Regions from separate parts of the Homo sapiens genome. Here all the other regions are linked to region 1. The links are contacts of gene promoters, found by promoter capture Hi-C in blood cells and fetal thymus (Javierre and others, 2016). All regions are on one chromosome and are shown on one strand. Each heading gives the region's core, a stretch centred on a gene start or on the middle of the fragment in contact. The rest is flanking DNA. Distances are from core to core; before and after follow the strand shown. Region 1 holds the start of ARMC3 (armadillo repeat containing 3). Region 2 overlaps DNAJC1 (DnaJ heat shock protein family (Hsp40) member C1). Region 3 overlaps DNAJC1 (DnaJ heat shock protein family (Hsp40) member C1). Region 4 has its middle 14 kb from the start of DNAJC1.

Region 1 (3,378 bases), core at 456-2,955:
TCCAATGGATATGGATAGTTTTAGTGCTGGGATGAAAACAGGTCACTATAGTCTGAAGAGTGAATAGGAAGTTAAAAATATGTAAGTATCTAATGCTGGCTACTTTTTTTGAAAAGTCATGACCAAGAAGAGAAAGAAAACAATAGGATAATAGTTAGAAGGAACAACAACATCAAAGGGATTTTATTTGTTTTTGCTTTTTAGATGAGGCATGGGAGGGGCTTCAACATAATTATATACCAACAGGAAAAAACGTGGAAGACAGGGAGAGGCTGAAAATACAGGTGTATATTATTCAAGGTCCAATCATATAACACTTGATGACGCTTATATTCTTGAAACTCCCTCCTTAGTTTCCTTGATGCTACTTGGTCTTAATCCTTTTCCTACTTTCATGACCATTACTTAAGATCTTTTCTATACAGAAGTCACACCGGATATTTGACCATGGAAAACTGAATACAAATAATTGTTATAAAGCTGTTTATCAGGCAATTTAAATGGTGAGAAGAGAACATAAGATATATAAAAGTAGCAATTATAAGAAGCATCTATCATTCTTAGGACTGGGAGACCAACAGGGGCCGGTAGGAGACGGAATTTGCAAAGTCTAAGAGGAGAGGGAGAGACTTTTTGCTAAAGGCAATCAAAAAATATTTTATGAAGATGGCATTTGAGCTGGGCTTAATTAAGTGGAAATGAGAGAATATTTCAGGTATTGCACATGACCTGGGAAATAGAAGCTACTTTATAAATATTTGTTGAAAAATGAAGTGATGAACAGATAAGCAAGAAAATCTAGAGAAAAGTGTGGAAAATTTCGGGAACAGTAAGTTTGGCTGGAGCTTGGATGGTGGAGATCGGTTGAAAATGTGGTTGCACAGATGGAGTAGAGATGGAGCAGACGGTCTTAAATTCCAGGCCAATGTGTTGAAAATTTATCTTAGGAAGCCGCTGACATTTGAGTAGGGAAGTGACAAGACTGGAACGATGATTTCTGGATGGCCGATTTGCCTGTGATACGTAGAAAGAACTGTAAGCAGAGAGCAACTGAATTTCTCAGCCAGAAGGCCAAAAAATGACGAGCTGGATTGAAGTGACAATAAGGATATGAGAAAGGGAACAAGCAGGAAACAAAATGTAAGCCGCCAAGAAGTGGCTGAAGTGATGACTGTGGTTGGGGGGCATGGGAGGAAGAAGGGAAATTGAAGCTCCTTCTGAGTCTAGGCAATTGGAAGAATGGCAGGAAGAGGAAAGAAAGAGGAAGAGAACGGGGCTTTGAAGGGCCATGAGAAGTTCTGTGGAAACGGATTGGACATCCTAGTGCAAAGAGATGTGGCAGTGCAGGTCTGCAGCTTAACGGAGCCTGGGCAGGAGGTGGCTGATGTGGGTTTCATCTGCATAGAGATTCCGGCTGACGCCTCTATTTGGAAGAATGCAATAGTATTTGCGTATTTGAACCCACAGCCAGTCCTTGGGCCAGAAACTGAGGCTGAACTGCCTCTTGATTTACAGCTTCCACCCCCAGTTTCCATTCTCCCCTAAAGCACTGGATTCAGGTAATCGCGGACGCACTTGGCTCCTCCCGCACTGGCCGCTGCCCTCGGCGGGACAATGGGCGCCCTAGCAGCCCCGAGCGTTCCCAGGGCGCAGGCGCGGCGCGGCGTGGCGTCGCCTAGCAACGAGGCACAACAAGGGACTGGGGGTTCGTCTGCTGGGTTTGCGGAGCAGCTAGCTACTCGGCGGGATCTCCCGGCAGGTAAAGGTAACCCCGTGGGGTGGGGAGGCCCAAGGCAGAGGCCTGAGGAAAACCTGGGAAAGGAGAAGGTGCCACGTGGGCGCAGACTGCTTGGGTCAGTGAGGCAACACCTTGCTGGGCGTTGTTAGTTTCTGCCTCGCGCCCGCAGGGTTAGACGGGGCTTGGGGTGGGTTTCGTAAGCATCCCGCCACCTCCCATTCAACAGGTGACAAAACTGAGGCCCGAGAGGGGATCTGAGGTGAGATCAAGTCAGATTCCGTTACTTGACTGTGAGCAACTCAGAAGTGGCCTCGATTTCTTGAGCCCTCCTCCTCTTTAAATCTTCTCAAAGCAGAACTCATTAGAAAATATTTAAAATCATAGGCTGAACGTTCACGAAGAACAAATACAAAGGACCAATCAACTCGTGAAAAAAAAAATGGCTCCAGTAGTCAAGAAGATGCATTTTTAGAGCAGAGTTGTTTGCATATCCAATGCCCTGAAGTTTTCACCCAGTTAATTTACTGCTAGAGATTTATCCTAAAGAAATAGTTGGGGATAATGGATGAAAATTTTATGTCCAAGGACGTTCTTTCAGCCCTGTCCATATTTCCAGAAAATTAGAAACAAATTTCAACAATCAGAGACTGGCTAGATAGCTAAGGGATTTTAAAATATTTGTAATGGCATGTTATGCTAATCCACTGGAGATTATTAAAGCAATGAAGGGAAACTGAGACTTCATGAATTTATTTGTTAATATAAGAATTTAGTAGGAATATGAACCCAGGAAGGGAAGGTGAAAGTAGGGGATAGAAGTTGAGGCAGGATGTTAAAATCACTTTAGAAAAACACACAAAGCCAGGTACGGTGGCTCACGCCTACAACCCCAGCACTTTGGGAGGCTGAGGCGGGTGGATCGCCTGAAGTCAGGAGTTCGAGACCAACCTGGTCAATGTGGGGAAACCTGTCTCTACTGAAAATACAAAAATTAGCCGAGCGTGGTGGCGGGTACCTGTAATCCCAGCTACTCAGGAGGCTGAGGCAGGAGAATCTCTTAAACCTGGGAGGTGGAGGTTGCAATGAGCCAAGATCAGGCCACTCTCCAGCCTGGGCAACAGAGTGAGACTCTGTCTCAAAAAAGAAAAAGAAAAAGAAAAAAAGAGAAGAGAGAGAGAGAGGGAGAGAGAGAGAGAGAAAGAGAGAGAGAAAGAGAAAGAAAAAGAAAAAGAAAGGAAAGGAAAGGAAAGGAAAGGAAAAGAAAAGAAATAGTATTGATCTCTCTGAGCTTATCTTTGGGTGATTTTTATTTTATTCGTTGTGCCCTTGTTTTCCAAATTCTCCACAGTGAAATGTATTACCCTTGTAAGGATCATCTCCATAGCTCATTGCCACCGACCTATGTCAGCTGTTCAGTCTCTCCTCCATTAACTATCATACCCAATATGGTGATAAAACACATAGGCTTTTTTTGGGGGAGGAGACAGAGTCTCGCTCTGTCACCCAGGCTGGAGTGCAATGGGGTGATCTCAGCTTATTGCAACCTCCGCCTCCCGGCCTCAAGCAATTCTCCTGCCTCAGCCTCCCCAGTAGCTGGGAATGCAGGCACATGCCACCGCCACTCCAGGCTAATTTTTGTA
Region 2 (3,378 bases), core at 615-3,114, 950 kb before region 1:
ACCTTAGTAAAATATGAAGATCTTTTAAAAAAAACCAGCTAGAAATCTATTAGACGTGCCTTCTATTAATATAAGTAGTAGCTGGTTTTGTGGCTTCAAGAACTTCTATGGTTTCTACTATGTAAAGCTATCTGATCAATCTCTGAGTGCAGCTCAAGAAGCTGCAAAGACATTTCCTTCATTTTCAAAAGGGCTCTTATCTGAATCATATGTATTTTTATTCAACTGATCTAAAGAATCTATATCCCAAATAAGGAAGCATGAGAACAAGGGTTTAAAGGATTTTAAGAACTATGATGCCAGGTTAAAATGCTAGAGGAGATTTAATTGATTTTTTAAAGTATTATTATTTTCATGAGTGCTTATAAGGTTCCACAGATTTTGAACGCTGTACCTCAACCCTATTTTTCCCATAGGTACTGTTATTTTTAGGGTGTGACTTTGCAGAATATGAAGCCATATATGGTTTTACAGTGGGAATACATGTACTTGGATCTGGTCTACCTGGATAAAGTAAGAAATAATGGAAAGTAAACTAAAGACAGAATACCTGTAAAGGAGATATCCTTATTTATAATTTTTCTTTTTTTTTTTTTCACCATGGCTTTACCTTCTGCAAGTCAATCCGGCTAAGGTACAATGGATAAAACGATTATCAAGCTTCTCTTTCTTACCTACCCACAGCAAACTTTGTTCCAGGCCTTTGACACCTTCATTGTTTTTGATAATAATCAAAGCTTTCTGCTCCTATGACTTTTGCAGTCATATGTCAAAACTGCATATGTCTGCTCCTATGACTTTTGCAGTCAAAAGTCCTATGACTTTTGCATTCTGCTTATTATGAATCCTGTTCAGAGTTTATTTTTGTCTTGTTCCCCAGCTTATTTTTCCAGAATCAAAACATTAACAGAGTTGCGGGGCTGGAAAGTCCTTAGGTTATCTAGTCTAACTTTACACTATTCTATATTATTAGCTACAAATATCTACTGACCACAGGGCTAAACAAGTGCTAGAAATGGCAGTGAACAAAAACAGGCACAAAATCCAGATATTGAACAAACTATATACACATATACACACATATATTTCCTAGTTCTGTCCATTAAGAAGTAATTTCCTACAAAGAAATTAACAAAGAGAAAATAGTAATTTTACGGTGGAGAAACCTGGCAGACACTTAACCAAATGATCAAAGTTAACATCATCTGTGATGAGATATATGGATATCATGTGCCTCCTGATACAATACACTGAAAAGGGCACACCACTTCCATAGTATTTATAACAAACATGCATAGTTTGAATTTAATCATGAGGAAATATTAGACAAACCCAAACTGTGGGACACTTTAAAATATAACTGTCCAATATTCTCCAAAAGTGTCAAGGTCAAGAAAGACTGAGGAACTGTCCCAGAGTGGACATAAATGAGATAAAACAACTAAATGTGTGATTCTGCACCAGGAAAAGGATGTTAATGGGACAGCTGGAAAATCTGAATAACATCTGTAGATAACACTGTAACAGTGTTAATGTCCTGGTTTTTATCAATTTATTAAGGTTACATCTGAGAAAGCCAGGTGAAAGGTATATGAGAACTGTATTATTTTTGCCACCTTTTGTTAAGCCTAAAATTATTTCAAAATGAAAAATTATACATAAAAAGTTTTAAAATATATTTCTTAAGTCTAATATTTGAAGTCAGTGATCACATATTTCCTTAGCCTTTCCTTTTCAGACTAAATGTGTTCTTCTTTTTGGGCAAGATTCCCAGAAACCCTACTGTATTTGTAGCTCCCCTTAAAAAAAAATTCAGTTTGTTAATATTCCTCCTTAAGTGTGGTACCAGGAGTGTTTATAATACATTGATGGAGATTGCATTAAATTTCTCATTTTCTGTGATCAAGTCACTCTCTGTTTCTATGTTTATTAATGCAAATTAGAGTTGAATTTTAAAAGCAGATGCATAATGCTGTTGGCCTAATTCAGCATGTAAACAACTAAAACCTGAGTGTTCATCTTTACTGAAGTCAAACCAGATCTCCCCGTTTTATATTTGTGCAAATGATTTTCTCAAGCAAAATGTAGAATTACATTTTTCCCTGATTACTTCCATCCTTTCAACTCATAGTTTACGATGGTATGGAGACCAGTTAGATTATTCTGAATGATAATTCTATCATTTACTCACTTGGCATGTATTCAGCACATACCATTTGCGGTGTACTATAAATTAAGAATCTATTAAAAATTTGCCATGGAATTGAGAGCAGTCATATCTGATTGGAAGAGCAAGCAATGGAGAAAATCTTTAATAATGGGATTAAATTTGGGCTGGGCCTTTAAGAATAGGTAACATTTAAATAGTAAGAAACAATTACAAAATAACAGTTATGATCTTTGAGCCTAACAGATAAGCTCCACAAGTTGTTAGTTTTCTGAGACTGGGCAAGTCTCTGAAATTCAATTTCCTCATTTGTAAAATGGGGAAAAAATGCCTTACTAAGTAGGGCTGTTTTAAAGATTACATGAGATAATATGTGTATTCAAAAACAGCCTTTTCAGCAGACGGTGCCAGGAAAACTGGATATCTGCATGCAAAAGAATAAAATTGAACCCTTACCTTTAACAAAGACTGTCTCCTTGACTAAACTCTAGTCAGGCTCCTCTAAACCATCTTCACAGCTAGGCCTCAACCTTTGAACTTCTATCTCCTCCTTTGCATCGTCCAATTTTAGCAAGAATTCTGCTAAGAGAGTTAAGCCAGAAACCCTACCATTGATATCCGATCACCCTCAATATATCTGACCAAATTCCTCATTCCCCACCAACCCCCAGGCGATACCTGATTACCTTGGCCTGCCTTTGGCAAAAACCTTGTCAAATTGGTTTCACCAGAGACCCCCTTAACTCTGATGTTTCCTCTAATCTTCCATCCACTGACCCTGTTCCTTGGCTATAAATCTCCACTTTCCATGTTGTATTCAGAATTAAGCTTCATTCTGTAACGAAGTCTCTTTTCTCCTACTGCAACTGTTCCTGATTAAAATTTGCTTTTACTGCTTTAACTACTGTCAGGCTCTACTTTTCTTTGACGCCTCACATCATATATATAAATTGACTTAAAAATAGATCAAGGACTAACATAGGAGTTAAAACTATACAACTCTTAGAAGAAAATATATGGGAAAAAACTTCATGATATTAGATTTGGTGATGATTTTTTGATATGACAGAGGTACAGGCAAAAAAAAGAAAAAAATAATAAATTGGACCTCATCAAAATGAAAACCTTTTGTGCATCAAAGGACACTAGTAAGAGAGTAAATAAACAACCCACAGAATGGGAGAAAATATTTGCTAATTATATATCTGATA
Region 3 (3,378 bases), core at 629-3,128, 930 kb before region 1:
TTGCTTAATTTAGTATTACATAAGATGGGAAATGAAACATAAATTCTAGATTAAATTTCTAATTAGGTCCTTATGACACGCTTAGACAAAAAATTTCAGTAAATATAAGTAATACTCAAATATCAACTATTCAGTTCTTAAAATGAAATACTATGCTGTTATTTAAAACATGTAATCATATTTTTACATTCATTAGTATAGGGCCCATCTTTTACAATTAAGTGTTTTGATGAAAATAAAGATTTTTGAAAATATGACTGTGACTTCATTATAAAATGATCTAGGGTCCTGCTTCATCCAATCAGAAATCTCTCTTTCCACTGCAATTCCTTTCCTTTATTTTTGTATAACTCTGTAAGAAAGGCTTTGGAATTGTTTTCAACTAGGTGGAATTAACTGGTATCATTACTGTCTAAACAGACCCAATAATGCCCACAGTGGAAAACAGTTCTGAAAGTCACATAGTACCATTTATGGAATAAGCAGTTCACTGAGAGAGAGCATAACAAAGCTGAGAAAAGGTTTATTACAGACACTAGGCATTTTATCAAACAACTTTTATTGGCATTACTTACAACTGCCATATAAATTCTCCTCTCAGCAATCAAGTCAAATAACCTCAACCTCTGTTTTATTCTCAACATTGAACAAAATATGATTGTGAAATTAACCACATTAAACCAATCACTAGGTAAACTGGTAACCCATATAACGTTTTAGAATATATTTCTAGGAATAATTGTAATAGCAGAAGCCATTCCACTTTCCCAGTTCAACTTAGGCTATTGTCTATGAATAACAAAAGATACAATATTCTAAGAGTGTTCTCATAATTAGTGTAAAGAAAAAACTGAGAATAGCATAAAAGGAAAAAGGAAACTTAAAACTAAAAGAAAGTCTCTGTTCCATCAGCTCTAGATTATATGTGGCAAAATTTTCACAATAGACTTGCTTTATCCCATAAAATTGGCTCAGGCATCTTCCACTAAACTATACATATCACAAAAAGAGTGTGTACATAAGAAAACTAATTTTATGATAATTCTATCTGATGCAAAGATGTATACAATTAAACAAGTACTTATTCAGCTCTAACGCTATGCATGCCTACATCAGAAATATAAATGACTGAAAGGTTATCTACCATTCTAGATTCTGTGTATCTCTTTCTCCAAATTAAAAAAAATTGGATTCTACAATAAAAATGGGGAAGCTATTATTACACAACACACATGTACAAAGGAATAGACTCCACAGAGAAAGACTGAACTACACTCAACACCACAAGCTCAGTGGATTCCACTGCAAGAATCACTGGACAAAATTGATAATCACAGTACAAATTCACCATCATTCATGAATGAAATCATCATCTTCATTTCTAAAAAGGACTGTGATGGGCTTTAGGGAGGCCCCATTAACTGGTTTTTCCCATCCAAAAAACTGAGTGGACACAGGAGTCGGGCAGACAAGAGATGAACCTTTATAACTGATACAGCTATTGAAGAATACAGGTTAAATGTGATGGCCAAATGGGCTTGCTAGCAATTTGTGCCCTCTCCTCTACATTCTAGACTTTGAGACAGTATGCTCAAGGGTAAGTCTGGTTAGGATAATTGCCTTACTGGTCTGGGCAGAGAGGTGCAAAGAGACTGATTCCCACTACTCATAGCTTTCTGACTGATCAGCTCTTCCTAATCAAGCAAAACAGAGCAAAGGCAATCACCCTCCAGTAAGGTAACTCACACCGCCATGGTAAGATGTTAGAGATGGGTCTAGTGATCAGTGGTGTTTTTTTAGGGAAGTTCCTCCCAACCATGGGGCACGGATGAATGGGCAATAATTGTCCCTCCTCTAAACAGGCTAGCTAATCTGTACATTTGAAAATACAGGCCGAATGAGCTTAAAAGGTTTATTAATTCCTATCTAAAAATTAAAATCCAAATATTTTATAAGCACATCCCTGTTCTTCTGCTTTTCTTCTGTTAACCAAGTTTCAGCATTCATTTGAATATAAGGATTTAGTTATAAAACACGAGAGAAAGAGAATGAAGCACATTTTCTAGCTACATAAATAGAAGTCTGTAATGACTGACTGGCACCATGAAGACAAATCTTGACTTCAGCATAAAGTAAATACTACAAAATTTAAGATAATTTAGCTTGTCATTATTTCAATTCACAGATTTTTTTAAATGAATATGAAGTGTTTACTGTTGGCTAGAATTACTGTATACAAAGGATAAGGAAAGTCATGGTCCCAAAAGACAATTAAAAGAAATATAGAGGCTGGGCGCAGTGGTTCACGCCTGTAATCCCAACACTTTGGGAGGCCGAGGTGGGTGGATCACCTGAGGTCAGGAGTGCAAGATCGGCCTGACCAACATGGCGAAACCCCATCTCTACTAAAAATACAAAATTAGCCAGGCATGGTGGCAGGTGCCTGTAATCCCAGCTACTCGGGAGGCTGAGGCAGGAGAATCGCGTGAACCCAGGAGGCAGAGGTTGCAATGAGCCAAGATCGCGCCACTGCACTCCAGCCTGGGCGACAGAGCAAGACTCCATCTCAAAAAAAAAAAAAAAAAAAAGAAATACAGAATTGCCACTGACCCCACAAGAAGTACAGGTGTCTGAGAAGCAGGTGCTGTTACACAAAATATAAATACTGTGCAGGAACCTATAATTTAAGATGGTAACGAAAGATCTTTCAATAGCACATCTTTTTTCCTACACTCCTCTCTCATCTTCCCCCCATCTCCTCTGAAAAGATGCAATATCCAAATTGGAGTGCCCTATTATTAAAGTCATTCTAAACATGGTATGAATGACTAATAAATCATCTGTATATACCCCCCAACAAAGACTTCTGCAACCCCTTTCTAGACTTCTAGAATGGACGTGAAATCTAAGGATACATGGAAGAAGATTCTTCTGCTGCCTGAAGGCTGTGAAAGATTACATAGAAGTAAAATCTGTTGAGTAAAAACTGTCAAGCAACTACTTGTTTGGGGAATTACAGTTTGCATTTAGTTACAATGTTTATAATGTTTGATTCAATAAATATTTAGGTGTTTACTATGTGCCTTACTATGAAGAAAATAAAAAGCTACCATCTGTCCTAAAAATGAGGCAACTAACTTGTCCAAGGTCATAAGGTGGTCTGGTCCAAGTTCTAAGTCATCTGTTATTCAGATTATAGAGCTTAGAGAGTAACTGAGTTATCTTATACCTGGTGGATAAGGGGATAAAGAAGATGCCACAGACAGTCACTACCATCTCTGCCTTCTAGTTTAGGATATGGATATCTCAAAAGAATGTTCTATATTAATTGTCTCCAATTCTTCCCTTTCATTCTCTCCTGAACCCAATCTACCCAGA
Region 4 (3,378 bases), core at 250-2,749, 910 kb before region 1:
TCATTTGTTTATTGTCTGATTTGCTCACTAGAATGCAAGCTCCATGATAGCAAGGACTTTATCTTGTTCATTCCTCTAACTAGTGATTAGCCTACATTGGGCTTTCAATAAATATTATTGAATTTAAAAATGAAGACTCCTGTCTCTCTCTCAGAGTTATAACCGACGGTATTATGTCAGATTCCTGCCAGATATATGACTGTATTACATCAGATTCCTACAAAAAAACAATCAAGTAAGCTATAGTAAAGTATCCAGCTCTAAGTAAGCTACTACTTCCAAGATGACGTCCATGTTTCACTACCCGGGGCCAAGTGAAGGACTTGGTAAAGGATGTGATGAATTGACTCACCGGCTGTATTGATGAAAATCATTGGTTACATTGGTAACAAGTCCAAAGTTAACTCTGACTCCACAGAAACACTGCTTGCAATTACTCATTTTTGATTAGTATGTATTAAACTATTCATGACTCAAAAACAAGTTAGATACTAAGATGGTGCCATAATGAATAATATGTCCAAAAGTTCTTCAATCACATAAAAATTCTCATTGCCATCCTGAGTAAATATAGCCAAGAAATTCTGATTTATATTATGTTCTTCTCAGTTGTGGTAGGACTTGCCACAGATAATTTCTCAAGATTTCCTGCAAGTTCAAGGTCATGCTTTCAACAGACCGAGCAGCAGTATTTTCAGGAAGACAGAGATATGCAAATGCTATGACAATTTTACGTACTCATTAGAAAAGATTTTTAAGCCCAGCCAGTTCTTTGATTTGGTACACAATTGCATTTCACAGAAACAATGTTTTCATTCATATTCAAAAGCATTGTTTGTCAATATTTCAGTTAATGTTATCTTTCATTAGCTTTATCATCACATATCTTAGGTAAGGTCATAGTTGTAAAAAGTTGTTTCATAATGACCTCTCAAGCTGTATTCTTTTGACACGGAAACATTTTGTTTTAAGTACAGAGGAATAGTCTCATTTCCAAAAGAATAATGCTTATGCCCATTTTCCTTTTTCCCTGAAACTTAAAGCTTCATGGTAGGGTTGTCAGATTTAGCAAATAAAAATACAGGATACCTAATTAAATTGAATGTCAGATAAGCAACTATTGCATGAGACATACTTATATGAAAAAGTCATTCGTTGTTTATCTGACATTCAGATATAACTGGGTATGTTATCTGGCCACCCTGGTCTATCTTCGTTTTTCCCACTTTTGATAGAGACATAGGTTGAAATATACTCAGATGGTTTCCAGGAAGTAACGACATCTTTAATACTTTCTTGTTAGTGATCTTTAAATGTTGTCAGCTTTTAAAAATCGAAGTAGGGAACTAATACTTCTGACCAAGATGAATATCGGAAGTCTGAAACACTGAAAAAAAAACTCAGATAAAATAAATGAAATATCAGTTCTCAAGATGTTGGAAATCAGGCCACCGAAGGATTTCATTATGTCAAACAATTAAACAGCAAATATTGACTCAGCTTTTACCATGTCGTAAGTCATTGTATTACAACATGCCACAAACACAAGAAGAGAAAAAAAAGACAATCTCTCAGTCCTTGGAGAATTTACAATTTGGTAGGAAAGATAACACGGATACACACAAAAAGATAATAAACAGTACAAGGAAGTAGGTGGTAAGTGCCAAAAGAGTAACACAGATAAGAGGAGGCAGGAGATCAGTTTCATCTGTGTCTTTGGAGAAACAGTCAAGCTAAAGGCCTCAAAGGGAGAGAGGACAGGAAAGAGAGTATTTCACTAAATGCTTTACATTCATTATTCCATTTAAGCCTCCCAATAACCCTACAAGGGAGTTATTATTATGATCACCAGTTTCCAGCTGAAAAAAGAATGAGCAGGTCTGAGAAACTTAACTATGGCTACACAGCTAGTAAGCAGCATCTCCACCTCCACCAGGTCCTCCTGACCCCAGAGCCTAAGCTTTTAACTACTAGTGCTACCTCTGAGATGAGGGGGGGAGTAGACTGGAAGCTCTACTGTTACATGAAACTCCTAGAGTTTTGAGTGGGAAAGCAAGATAAAATGACTATTTTAGAAAATGAATTCTTCACACACCATCCCAGACATTCTGGATACAAATGTCATTTGATCACATTGGATTGCAAGGAGACTAAAGAGAGTCAAAGATCAGAAACACTGTGAAATCAAAACAAACTGAAATGAGCTGGTGGTTATTTGCATATATAGGCAAGAGAGAAAGGGAAAAATCAAAGGTAAATGCAAGGCTAAAGATTACAGATACACACACACACACACACACACACACACTCTATTAGAACTAGTAAATTCAGCAAAGTTGCAGGATACAAAATAATCACACGAAAATCAGTTGTGTTTCTATATACTAACAATAAAAAACCTAAAAAGGAAATTTATAAAACAGCTCTATTTTCAATAGCATCAATAACAATAAAAAATTTAGGAATAAACTTAACCAAGCCAAGGGAAAAGAACTATAAAAACTATAAAACATTGCTGAAAGAAATGAAAGACAACACTAATAAATGGAAAGACATCCTGTGTTCATGGATTGGAAGACAATATCATGAAGATGTCAATACTATTCAATGTGATCTACAGAGGCAATGTAATCCCTATCAAAATCCCACCAGTGATTTTTGCAAAAGGAGAAAAATCCATACTAAAATTCATGTGGAATCTCAAAGGACTTCAAATAGCCAAAACAATCTTTAAAAAGAACAGAGTTGGAGGACTCACAATTCCTGATTTCAAAATTTACTACAAAGCTACAGTAATCAAAACAGTGTGGTACTGGCATAAGGACGGACATATAGACCAATGGAATAAAAGAGAGAAATAACCCTTCTCATATACCTTACAGTATATGAAATAACCCTTCCCATGTACCATATTGTCAAATGGTGCCAGAAATAACCCTTCTCATATACCATATGGTCAAATGATATTCCACAAGGGTGCTAAGACCATTCAATGGGAGAAGAACAGTCTTCAACAAATAGTGCAGGGAAAACTGGATATCTACATGCAAAATCATAAAGTTAACCCCTTCCTTCACATCACATAAAATATTAGCTTAAAATGAATCAGCTGGGCATGGTGGCTCACACATGTAATCCCAGCACTTTGGGAGATTGAGGCAGATGGATCACCTGAGGTCAGGAGTTCTAGACCAGCCTGGCCAACATGGTGAAACCCCGTCTCTACCAAAAATACAAAAATTATCCCGTTATCCTGGCATGGTGGTGTGCGCCCATAATCCCAGCTACTCAGGAGACTGAGGCACAAGAATCACTTGAACCCGGGAGGCACAGGTTGCAGGGGGCTGAGATCGCCCCACTGCACTCCAACCTGGGCGA

The links. The method cuts DNA at HindIII sites, captures the fragments that hold promoters and counts their contacts. A CHiCAGO score of 5 or more calls a contact.
Region 2: a contact is called between a fragment that was not itself captured here and the fragment with the promoter of ARMC3 in region 1, in 1 of 17 cell types (naive CD8 T cells). The highest score is 5.1, in naive CD8 T cells.
Region 3: a fragment that was not itself captured here is called in contact with the fragment with the promoter of ARMC3 in region 1 in 1 of 17 cell types (naive CD8 T cells); the score reaches 5.5 in naive CD8 T cells.
Region 4: a fragment that was not itself captured here is called in contact with the fragment with the promoter of ARMC3 in region 1 in 4 of 17 cell types (endothelial precursors, total CD8 T cells, activated CD4 T cells and 1 more); the score reaches 8.1 in endothelial precursors.

The regions. Positions count from the first base shown.
Region 1 is chr10:22,926,348-22,929,725 of GRCh38, forward strand. It overlaps ARMC3 (armadillo repeat containing 3), which reads left to right and starts at 1,706. Exons shown (of 19, transcript NM_173081.5): 1 at 1,706-1,759. The HindIII fragment of the contact is 5,434 bases long and covers 1-3,378 here.
Region 2 is chr10:21,979,130-21,982,507 of GRCh38, forward strand. The region is part of intron 1 of DNAJC1 (DnaJ heat shock protein family (Hsp40) member C1); the gene reads right to left. Among named protein-coding and RNA genes, the nearest start is that of DNAJC1, 23 kb to the right of the region's middle. The HindIII fragment of the contact is 2,258 bases long and covers 736-2,993 here.
Region 3 is chr10:21,995,822-21,999,199 of GRCh38, forward strand. The region is part of intron 1 of DNAJC1 (DnaJ heat shock protein family (Hsp40) member C1); the gene reads right to left. Among named protein-coding and RNA genes, the nearest start is that of DNAJC1, 6.2 kb to the right of the region's middle. The HindIII fragment of the contact is 6,758 bases long and covers 1-3,378 here.
Region 4 is chr10:22,015,868-22,019,245 of GRCh38, forward strand. No RefSeq gene overlaps it. Among named protein-coding and RNA genes, the nearest start is that of DNAJC1, 14 kb to the left of the region's middle. The HindIII fragment of the contact is 917 bases long and covers 1,042-1,958 here.